3 separate regions of the Homo sapiens genome follow, and regions 2 and 3 are each linked to region 1. Evidence: promoter capture Hi-C in 16 types of primary human blood cells and fetal thymus (Javierre and others, 2016). All regions are on one chromosome and are shown on one strand. Each heading gives the region's core, a stretch centred on a gene start or on the middle of the fragment in contact. The rest is flanking DNA. Distances are from core to core; before and after follow the strand shown.

Region 1 (3,338 bases), core at 22-2,521:
GGCTCATGCCTGTAATCCCAGCACTTTGGGAGGCCGAGGCAGGTGGATCACCTGAGGTTAGGAGTTTGAGACTAGCCTGACCAACATGGTAAAACACCATCTCTACTAAAAATACAAAAATTAGCCGGGCCTGGTAGCGCACTCCTGTAATCCCAGCTACTCGGGAGGCTAAGGCTCAAGAATCGCTTGAGAGGCGGAGGTTGCAGTGAGCTGAGATCATGCCATTGCATCCCAGGCTAAGCAACAAGAGTGAAATTCCGTCTCAAAAAAAAAAAAAAGTCATGTCTGCTTCATTTTTTGGAAGAATAGAAATAATAAGTAAATCAAGTCTTAGGTCCAAACTTGTTTTTTCTTACATTGAAACCTGGTGATGCTACACACAAGCTCCGCTCCTGGATTTTGATGAGGGCTGCACTGTCCACATGCTTGGTTCCCAAGAGGGTGTCTAACAATAAGCTCTGCAAATGGCTCATGTTCCCTCAACTCTGAAAGGGAAAGTGCAGTTGAAGCCATTGACTCTGGCTAGCTTTTAAAAGGCATGTGAATACAAATGTCCTTAAGACACTGCAGACAGTTCTAAGATCAGCAAGTGTACTTTGAAAAGGTACAGGGTGAAAACGGTGGTCCATCATTCAGGGCCCACCAGTACCCAAAGAGGAAAACAGAATCATAGAAAAATCACAGCTCACACAGAATAGGTTATGAAGCTGAGTTTGGAAAATCACAGCCTGGTGATTTTCTGGCTATGTCAATGGTTTACATCAGGATTATCTGCGATTTAAAAACAAACATTACACACTGAGAAAAACTCTGTAAAATAAAAAATAAAAACAAAAAACAAAACCCAGCCAGGATGGAGAGCTACCCTGCTAAGTTAAACACGACTAAAAGAGATTATGCGTGGCCATAAACCCACACATTCCCTTCCCGGTGACCTGCATCAGCGCCAGCTATGAACGCTGATCAACATCCCAATGGACTAAAAACACCTTGAAGGCACTTAAACCCACATTTCCCGCACAAGTCCCCAAGCCTTGGACCCCCCTCATCAGGACCTCCGGCACAGGCGCCCGTTTCCCGCCACTGCCTTCCAGTGGTTTGGTCCCCGAGCAGGACCCAAGGCGGGGCAGGGGGTGGTGAGCGGTGAATTCCCTGGCACCGAGGACTCGAGGGAGCGGACGCCACCCCGCTCTGTGGTGCCCGCAAGGACCCGGCGACCAAGGACCCGACCGTCAACGGACGCGGTTGCGGGTGGGTGGCGGCGGCAGGATTGGCCGGGCCACGCGCCGGTCACCGAGAAGCAGCGACTCCAGCCCCTTCCGCAAACCAAGACCCGCCACCTAGAGCCGCCGCCCAATCCCCTTTGGGCCTGAAGCCGTCCTCCGCCGCCCCGGCACCGCCCGCGCGGACTCGCTGTGGAACCCGCGGCGCAGGGGGCGGAGTGCTCGCGCGGCGCTGCGTCCGGGAGACGGTGGGCGCCAACATTCGCGCGTTCCGCAGACGCGGGCGGGCTCCCTTCCAGCCGCAGTCGGACGGCTCCGGGGTCGTCGGGCCGGGCCCGAGTGTGTAGCAGGACGGCCGCGGGCCTGCTGGCCTTGGGAGGGCAGAGAGGTGCCTGTCGCGGCCGGCGACCTCCCCGCCAGGCCGGGCGGTCCCCGCGCACGACGCGCCTGCGCGGGAGGCCCCCGGCCCGGGGCTGGCGTGGAGGCCGCAGGCGCCCGGCCTAGTGGGTGGGAGGAAGGGCCGGGAGTGGGCGCGATGAGCGAGAGCGGGTGCGGACGCCTACGACATCCCCGTCGCACCCGTGCCTCGGGGAGGACTTCGAGCCGCTCAGAGCTCGAAGACTCGCGCAGTATGACCGAAAGCCCCTCCCTGCCTTCTCTAAGCAGCTCAGCCTGTGTTTCTGTGGCCAGAAAGTTGCAGTTCTTCCCACTCGAGGCCACCAAAGTCAGAAAAGTGTTGCAAATGGGACTCCGAGAGGCCAGGCTGAAGCTGCCACACTGGCTGGAATGGGCTGCCTTGGAGGGGGACGTGGGAATCCATTCCAAGGGACGGGGGATTCTTTCAAAGAGCATCTCGCCTGCTTATAAAGGAGGCTGGCTCTGAAGCCGTCATCTGGAGTCTGTAGTGAAGGCCTCTTGTTAGGGAAACTGGATGGTTAGTGTTCAAAATCCATTTTGCGTGTGTGCAAGGACACAGGTGGTATTAAACAGAAGAGAAAATCAGATGACTGTGAAATGTTCAATACTAAATAAGATGATTTTTAGTTTTTCCAGGGGCATTGTTATTTGTGACCACAATGAAAAATGTAGACAGTGATGATCTGGTAACTGGCACACTTCCCAAGCTCAAGAGCTCAAAAGAATGGTTGGAGCCCAAGCCCCTTTGTTTTATGGAGGTATATATCAAATAGTGTGGGATTTGGAGATTTTTTTACTTGGATCGTTGCAGTAGGAAGTGGCTTGTGCTAAATATATTGTTTTTTCTATTGTTTGTTTTTATTTCATTCTGTTTATTATTCCCTTCACTTTACTAACTTTGTATATTCACTTTGCTGTTTTTTTCTAACATCTTAAGGTGGAATCATAGGTCATTGATTATATACCTTTTAAAATGTAACATAGCTATAAGTTTCTCTTGAGGTACTGCCTTAGCTGCATCACCCAAATTTTGATATGATGTATTTATTTATTTATTTATATTTGAGACAGGGTCTTGCTATGTTTCCTCCTGGAATCAAGCCATCCTTCCACTCCCTAGTAGCTGGAAGTATAGGCGCACGCCACCATGTCTGGCTAATTTTTGTATTTTCTGTAGAGATACAAAAAATCTCTACACTGTGTCGCCTAGGCTGGTCCCCAACTCCTGAGCTCAAGCAATCCACCTACCGTGGTGTTCCAAAATGCTGGGATTATAGCTGTGAGCCCTTGCGCCCAGCCAGTTATATTGTTTTTAGATTGTAGTTTCTTTTTTCTAAACAGCTTTATTAAGATGTAATTGATATACAGTAAACTGCATATATTTAAAGTGTGTGTCTGGCACTGTGCCTCATGCCTGTAATCCCAGCACGTTGGGAGGCTGAGGTGGGAGGGTCGCTTGAGCCCAGGAGTTCTATCTAGACCAGGCAGAGCAATATACTGAGACCCTGTCTCCACAAACGAACGAACAATAATAGCCAGGTGTGGTAGCATACACCTATAGTCCCAGCTGCTTGAGAGGCTGAGGCAGGAGGATTGCTTGACCCCAGGAATTTGAGGCTGCAGTGAGCTGTGATTGTGCCACTGCATCCCCACCTGGGTGACAGAATAAGACCCTGTCTCAAATAAAGTGTACAAACT
Region 2 (3,553 bases), core at 885-3,384, 270 kb before region 1:
CTAAAACTGCCTGCTATGAATGGAATGTTTCTATTCCCCTAAAATTCACACATTGAAACCTAATCACCAATGTAATGTTGTTAAGAGGTATTAAGAGTTAAGAGCTAAGGTGTTAAGAGTGTTAAGAGGTGGAACCTTTGGGAGGTAATTAGGACACAAGGGCAAAACCCTCATAAAGAGGATTCCTGCCTTCATAAAAGAGACCTGAAAAAGCTAGCTGGTCTTTTCTACCATTTAAGGACACAAGAGAAGTCATCAGAACCAGAAAGCAGGTCCTCACCAGACACTAAATCTGCTGGCACCCTGATCTTGGACATCCCAGCCTCCAGAAATATGACAAATAATGTTCTGCTATTTCTAAGCTACCCAGTTTTATAGAGATTTTTTGTTTTCTGAGACAGGGCCTCACTCTCTCACCTAGGCTGTAGTTCGGTGGCACGATTGTGGCTCACTGCAGCCTTGACCTCCCCAGGCTCAAGTGATCCTCTCACGTCAGCCTCCCAAGTAGCTAGGACGAGAGGCACACCACACCCAACTAATTTTTGTACTTTTAGTAGAGACACGGTTTTGCCACATTGCCCAGGCTGGTCTCAAACTGCTGAGCTCAAGAGATCCACTGTCCTTGGCCTCCCAAAGTGCTGGGACTACAAGTGTGAGCCACTGTGCCCAGTCATGAATAGTCTATTTTTAAGACCATTTGTTAGGGCAGTTTTAGGTTAACAGCCAAATTGAGAAGGAAATACAGAGACTTTCATACGTCCCCCGCCTGCCCCTTCATATGTATACCCATGCCCCAACAGAGTGGTGCACTTATTTCAACTGATGAACCTACAATGACACATCACAATCTACAAAGTCCACAGTTTACATTAAGGTTCACGCTTGATGATATACATTCTATGGGTTTGGACAAACATATCATGATGTGGATCCACTCTTACAGTATAACACAGACTATTTTCACTGCCCTAAAAAATCTTTTATACTCTGCCTACAAATCCCCCTCAGTCTACTAATTTTTAAAAATATAAGAAAAAAGGTAGTATAAAATTGGAAACAAAAATAATAGTAGAAAATCTATGAAAACAGAAGTTGCCTCTTTGGGGGAGAAAGGACCAATAAAATTGATAATCCTCTAGCCGGAGTAATCAAGAAAAAAAAAAAGAGAAAACACAGGTTATCACCATCGGAAATGAAAAGAATACTACCGCAGACTATTTAGGCATTAAGGAGATAACAGAATAGTAGGAAAAAATGTATGTAAATTTCTTGACTTAGGTGAAATGAACAAATTCCTTTAAAGATAAACTACCAAACTAACAAAACTGACCTAAGAATAAATAGAAAACTTGAACAGCCCTGTATCAACTGAAGAAATTTAACTTGTAATCAAAAACCTTTCCATAAACAAAACTCCAGGCCCAGGTATTTTCACTGGTGAATTCTCTCAAACACTTAAGAAATGAATAACATCAAACTTACACAAACACTTTCAGAAAATAGAGAAAGAGGGAATGCCATCTCATCTTTTTTTTTTTAAGAGACAGGGTCTCACTATGTTGCCCAGGCTGCTCTTGCACTCCTAGACTCAAGAGATCCTGCTGCCTCAGCCTCTCAAAGTGTTGAGATTACAGGCATGCACCATCACACCCAGTGTATATCTCATCTAATACACATCAAAATTACCTGATTCCAAAACCAGATGCAGATATTTTAAGAGTAATTACAGATCAAAATCTCATTAATACAGATAATAAAACTTTTTATATTAGCAAGTGGAATCCAATAATTTTTTAAGAAAGACAATATATTATGAGCAAGTGAGGTTTATTCTAAGAATGCAAAGTTAGTTTACTATCTAAAATTCAGGCCAGGCGCAGTGGCTCACACTTGTAATCCCAGCACTTCGGGAGGCCGAGGCAGGTGGATCACCTGAGGTCAGGCGTTCAAGACAAGCCTGACCAACATGGTGAAACCCTGTCTCTACTAAAAACACAAAAATTAGCCAGGCACGGTGGCAGACACCTGTAATGCCAGGTACTCGGGAGGCTGAGGCAAGAGAATCACTTGAACCCAGGAGGTGGAGGTTGCAGTGAGCCGAGATCACGCCATTGCACTCCAGCATGGGCGACAGAGCGAGACTCCATCTCCAAAAAAAAAAAAAAATCTAAAATTCAATCAAAATAATGCTCTACCTTAATAGAATACAGGAGAAAAGCCATATGATCAATTCAAAAGAGACAGAAAAAAAAATATGTTACAAAGTTCAGTACTCTATCCCAGTAAAATAAACTCTCACAGCAAACTAGGAATATAGTGGAAATCCCTCAATGTAATAAAGGGCACCTATGAAAAACTTAGTTAAAATCACATTCAATGGTTAAAGTCTCAATGTTTTACAGCCAATGAAGGAAACAGGCAGTGATTTCCATTATCACCATTACTATTTAACTGAATTCTAGCCAAAGAAATAAGAAAAAGAAATAAAAGACATAGATTGGAAAGGAAGAAGTAGAAGTACCTTTATTTGCAGATAAGGTATATGTATAAAACCGTAAGGAAACCACAAAATAGCTAATAGAACTAACAAATGAATTTAGCAAGGTTGTGGATACAAAGTCTATAAACTCAGTTGTATTTTTATAAACCAGCAGTAAGCAATTAGAAAATAAATTTTCTTTCAAAACTCCATTCACATTAAATGAACAATAAAGTATTTAGGGATGCATTAAACAAAAGATGCCTAAGATCCTTATGCTAAAACCATAAGACACAGGAAAAGGAAATTAAAGAATACCTAAATAAATGAACAGAATTACCATGTTCATAGACTGAAAGACGAATAAGGATGCAATTCTTCCCAAATAGATCGAAGGATTAATTGCAATCCCAAATAAATCCCAACAGTCTTTTCTAAAGAAACTGACAAGAGGCTTTAGAAATGTAAATGGAAAGATAATAGATGACTACAACAATTCTGAAAAAGAACAAATTTGGAGGACTTATACTAAAATGAACATTAATCAAGACAGTGGTATAAGGATAGACCTGTAGATCAATGGAATCAACTAACAAATCTAGAAATAGACACACATTTATATGGTCAATTTTTGTCAAAGACGTGCCAAGAAATTTAACAAAGTAAACTCTTCAATATATGGTTCTGGAACAAATGAGTATCTGTATAAAAAAATAGGCTGGGCATGGTGGCTCATGCCTGTAATACCAGCACTTTGGGAGGCCGAAGCAGGAGAATCACCTGAGGTCAGAAGTTCGAGACCAGCCTGGCCAACATGGTGAAACATACCTCTACTAATAATACAAAAATTCGCCAGGCATGGTAGCACACACCTGTAATCCCAGCTACTCAGGAGGCTGAGGCACAAGAATCACTTGAACCTGGGAGGTGGAGGCTACAGTGAGCTGAGATCGCGCGACTGCACTCCAGCCTGGGCAACAGAGTGACACTCCGTCTCAAAGAAAAAAAAAGAATACCTGTATTAAAAAAATAAACTTCAGTCCATACCTTAAACTATCTACAAAAATTAACTTA
Region 3 (3,670 bases), core at 266-2,765, 330 kb before region 1:
TCTCTAAGTTCACTCCTAACTTTATCTTCTGACAGTCCTAGCCTCAAACTTCATGGTGTACCAAAGACAAGCCTTCCATAATTCCCAGAACAAATCACGCTCTGTTTCACATTGGTTCACACTGGTTGTGATACATAGTATTCACTCATTCCTGACCCCTTCTTTAATGCACCACTCAAGCTGATGCTTTCTGTGTGATGCCTTCCCTAACTTTCCCAGATGCACTTAGGCACACCTTCCAATATTTCTGAAAAAACAGTTCAATAATGTTCAGTAAATTTTTACAGATGTGTAGCCATCACAAGCACATTTTAGAACATTTCCATTACCCCAAAAAGTTTCCTCAGGCCTATCTGCAGTCAATCCCCACTCCCACTCCCATGTCCCAGCCTAACAACCACTGATAATGCTTTCTGTCTCTAGAGAATTGCCTCTTCTAGACATTTTGTATCATACAACTGACAGTCTTTTATGCCTGGCTTCTGTCACTTAAAACTTCAGGTTTTTCCAAGTTGTAGTATGTATTAGTATTTCATTCCATTTATTGCTGAATAGTATTTCATCACATTTTGTTTAGCCATTCACCAATTAAGGAACATTTGGATTGTTTCCACTTTTTGCTAGTATGAGTACAACAACTAGAAACATTCCCATACAAATGTCTTTCTGTGAAAGTATGTTTTCATTTCTTTTGTGTAGATAACTAGGAGTGGAATTGCTGAGTCATACCATAAATTTATGTTTAACTTTGGAAAGTGGCTGCACCATTTTACAATCCCACCAGCAGTATATAAGGACTCCAGTTTCTATATCCTTGCCAATACTTGGTATTCTTTATTTTTGATTACAGCTATTAGGTTGGTGCAAAAGCACTTTTTTTTTTTTTTTGCAGCTTTCAATGGCAAAAAACGCAATTACTCTTGCCCAACCTATATTTTAGTGGGTTGCAGTGGTATTTCATTCCTGAATGACTGATAATGAGCATCTTTTCATACACTTATCATCCATTTACATATACTCTAAGGAACCTCATATAAAAGGAATTATACAAAATTTGTCCTATGACTAAGTTAGCATAATGTCTTCAAGCTTCATCCATGTTACAACATGCATCAAAATTTTCTCCTTTTTAAGGCTAAATAATGTTCCATTGTATATGCTACATTTTGTTTATCCTTTCAACTATCAATGGACACTGAGGATGTTTCCACCTTTTGGTTACTATGAATGATGCTGTTGTGAACATGGGTGTGCAAATACCTGTTCAAGTCCCTGCTTTCAATTCTTTTGAGTAAGTACCTAGAACTTGATTGGCTGGATCATATGGCATTTATATATTTAAGATAATGTCATACTGTTTTCCACAGTGGCTATACAATTTTACATTCCCACCAGCAATGCAAAAAGGTTCTCCTTTTTCCACATCCTCATCAACATTTGTTAATTTCTGTTTTTTTTTAATAACAGCCATCTTTTTTTTTTTTTGAGACGGAGTCTTGCTCTGTCGCCCAGGCTGGAGTGCAGTGGTGCAATCTCGGCTCACTGCAAGCTCCGCCTCCTGGGTTCACGCCATTCTCCTGCCTCAGTCTCCCAAGCAGCGTGCCACCACGCCCAGCCTAATTTTTGTATTTTTAGTAGAGACGGGGTTTCACTACGTTGGCCAGGATGGTCTCGATCTCCTGACCTCGTGATCCACCAGCCTCAGCCTCCCAAAGTGCTGGGATTACAGGCATGAGCTATGGCACCTGGCCAACCTTTTTGTTTTATCGAATTTATTAACACATTCCTTAGAATTGTTAGTCCCCAGTTTTGAAGGTAGGGTTCCTGCAACCTTTGTAATAAGAAAAATTAATGGTTAAGAACTTAAGATCTAAAAAAAAAAAAAAGAACTTAAGATCTCAATAACAAAAGGTGTGAAAAAGAGGTCAGAAATAAACCTAAGAAAGCTTTCATAAATAAAATTTGCTTTGCTCAAAACAAAATAGGATATCAACCCATTAAATAAAAATAGAAATAGTTTACATATCTCAAAATAGTAACTATGTTTACCTACTATCCTATTTCACTTAGGGAAAAAAAACTTGTGGCCGGGCACGGTGGCTCACACCTGTAATCCCAACACTTTGGGAGGCTGAGGTGGGTGGATCACGAAGTCAGGAGATCAAGACCATACTGGCTAACACAGTGAAATCCCTTCTCTACTAAAAATACAAAAAATTAGCTGGGCGTGGTGGCGGGCGCCTTTAGTCCCAGCTACTCCAGGAGGCTTAGGCAGAAGAATGGCGTGAACCCGGGAGGCAGAGCTTGCAGTGAGCCGAGATTGTGCCACTGCACTCCAGCCTGGGCAACAGCGAGAGACTCTGTCTCAAAAAAAAAAAAAAAAAAAAAAAAAAAACTTGAGAAGATTTCCTTCCTCTTAAATTTTAAGAATCACGTAATTGTTTTATTACCAAAATATTAATATTAAAACAGTTCCCTTGTATCTTATGATCATTAATCTGAGTTTTCAATGCCCCTACTTGATTTTTCTAATTGAAGTTACTGATTTTCCCCTCCCAGGTCCTACCATAAACCTAGAGAGACAATGACAAGAAACATTTAAGATAACAAAATGCTATATGTAATCTTACTTTCATCAGCATAGCTGAGGAATATTTCTTTAAAATTCATTTCCAATATACTGAATTATATAATCTTAAACCTGCTCATAATAATTTAATAACAAAGCAGATACTGTGAATGTCTTCAGAAACAGAAATACAATTCTGGCCAAGGTTTACATTCCTTCCTACAAATATCTCTAATTTATTTGCTTCCTCCCTTAAGAGTCTTTTTTCTGTGCTCAACCTTAAATTAACTCTCTTCTCTAATTCTCCATAAATACCTTGCAATTCCCATATATCTCAAATAAAATTCTCCAAGTATCTTCAGAAAGGGTTTATAAAAGTAAATTTACTTACACTACAATTCTGCATGGTTCTCAAGTGGTCAAAAATTTAAAGAAAAAATATTTTAAAAGAAAGAATTATGCAGAAAGCGAGTGAGGCTGGGCAAGGGTTACTTAAATCCTACGTGATGATTCAACTGTTAGTTCCTTTTTTCATGCAGCAAACTTTTACAGAGTAATTCCAATGTGTTAGCACTGTGCTAGGAATGGGAGAAATGATGGCCAGTAACACCTGAAAGTGCTAGTGGTCTAGAGACCAGAGGTGCACAAACTTTTTGGTCTCAGGACCCCAAAAAAGCTTTTATGTATGTGAGCTATATGCATCAATATTTACAGATTTTAAATAAGCCCATTAGATATTAACACTAACATTAAAAGAATAAAACATATATTCTTTTGAAAAATATATTTTTCCAAAATATAGAAAGAACATAAAACACATAAAACAAAATTTAGCGAGAAAAGTGGCACTGTTTTATCTTTTTTTTGAGACAGCGTCTCACTCTGTCACCCAGGCTGGAGTGCAGTGACACGATCTTGGCTCACTGCATCCACCTCCCAGGCTTAAGCGATCCTCCCACCTCAGCCTCCTGAATAGCTGGGACTACAGGCACGCGCCATCATACCCAGCTAATTTTTGTATTGTTTGTAGAGATGGTGTTATGCCATGTTGCCTAGGCTGGTCTCATACTCCTAGGCTCAAGTGATCCGCTTGCCTCAGCC

What was found. The method cuts DNA at HindIII sites, captures the fragments that hold promoters and counts their contacts. A CHiCAGO score of 5 or more calls a contact.
Region 2: a contact is called between a fragment that was not itself captured here and the fragment with the promoter of PFN4 in region 1, in 1 of 17 cell types (naive B cells). The highest score is 5.6, in naive B cells.
Region 3: a contact is called between a fragment that was not itself captured here and the fragment with the promoter of PFN4 in region 1, in 1 of 17 cell types (naive B cells). The highest score is 5.2, in naive B cells.

The regions. Positions count from the first base shown.
Region 1 is chr2:24,122,063-24,125,400 of GRCh38, forward strand. PFN4 (profilin family member 4) reads right to left here and starts at 1,272. Exons shown (of 5, transcript NM_199346.3): 1 at 1,056-1,272; 2 at 357-485. The coding sequence starts at 473. It overlaps FAM228B (family with sequence similarity 228 member B), which reads left to right and starts at 1,407. Exons shown (of 11, transcript NM_001145710.2): 1 at 1,407-1,471; 2 at 2,268-2,398. The coding sequence starts at 2,300. RefSeq lists a silencer at 1,339-1,838 and an enhancer at 1,909-2,158. The HindIII fragment of the contact is 10,311 bases long and covers 1-3,338 here.
Region 2 is chr2:23,850,769-23,854,321 of GRCh38, forward strand. All of the region lies in intron 13 of ATAD2B (ATPase family AAA domain containing 2B), which reads right to left. Among named protein-coding and RNA genes, the nearest start is that of ATAD2B, 75 kb to the right of the region's middle. RefSeq lists an enhancer at 230-279. The HindIII fragment of the contact is 4,900 bases long and covers 1-3,553 here.
Region 3 is chr2:23,790,596-23,794,265 of GRCh38, forward strand. All of the region lies in intron 19 of ATAD2B (ATPase family AAA domain containing 2B), which reads right to left. Among named protein-coding and RNA genes, the nearest start is that of ATAD2B, 130 kb to the right of the region's middle. The HindIII fragment of the contact is 857 bases long and covers 1,088-1,944 here.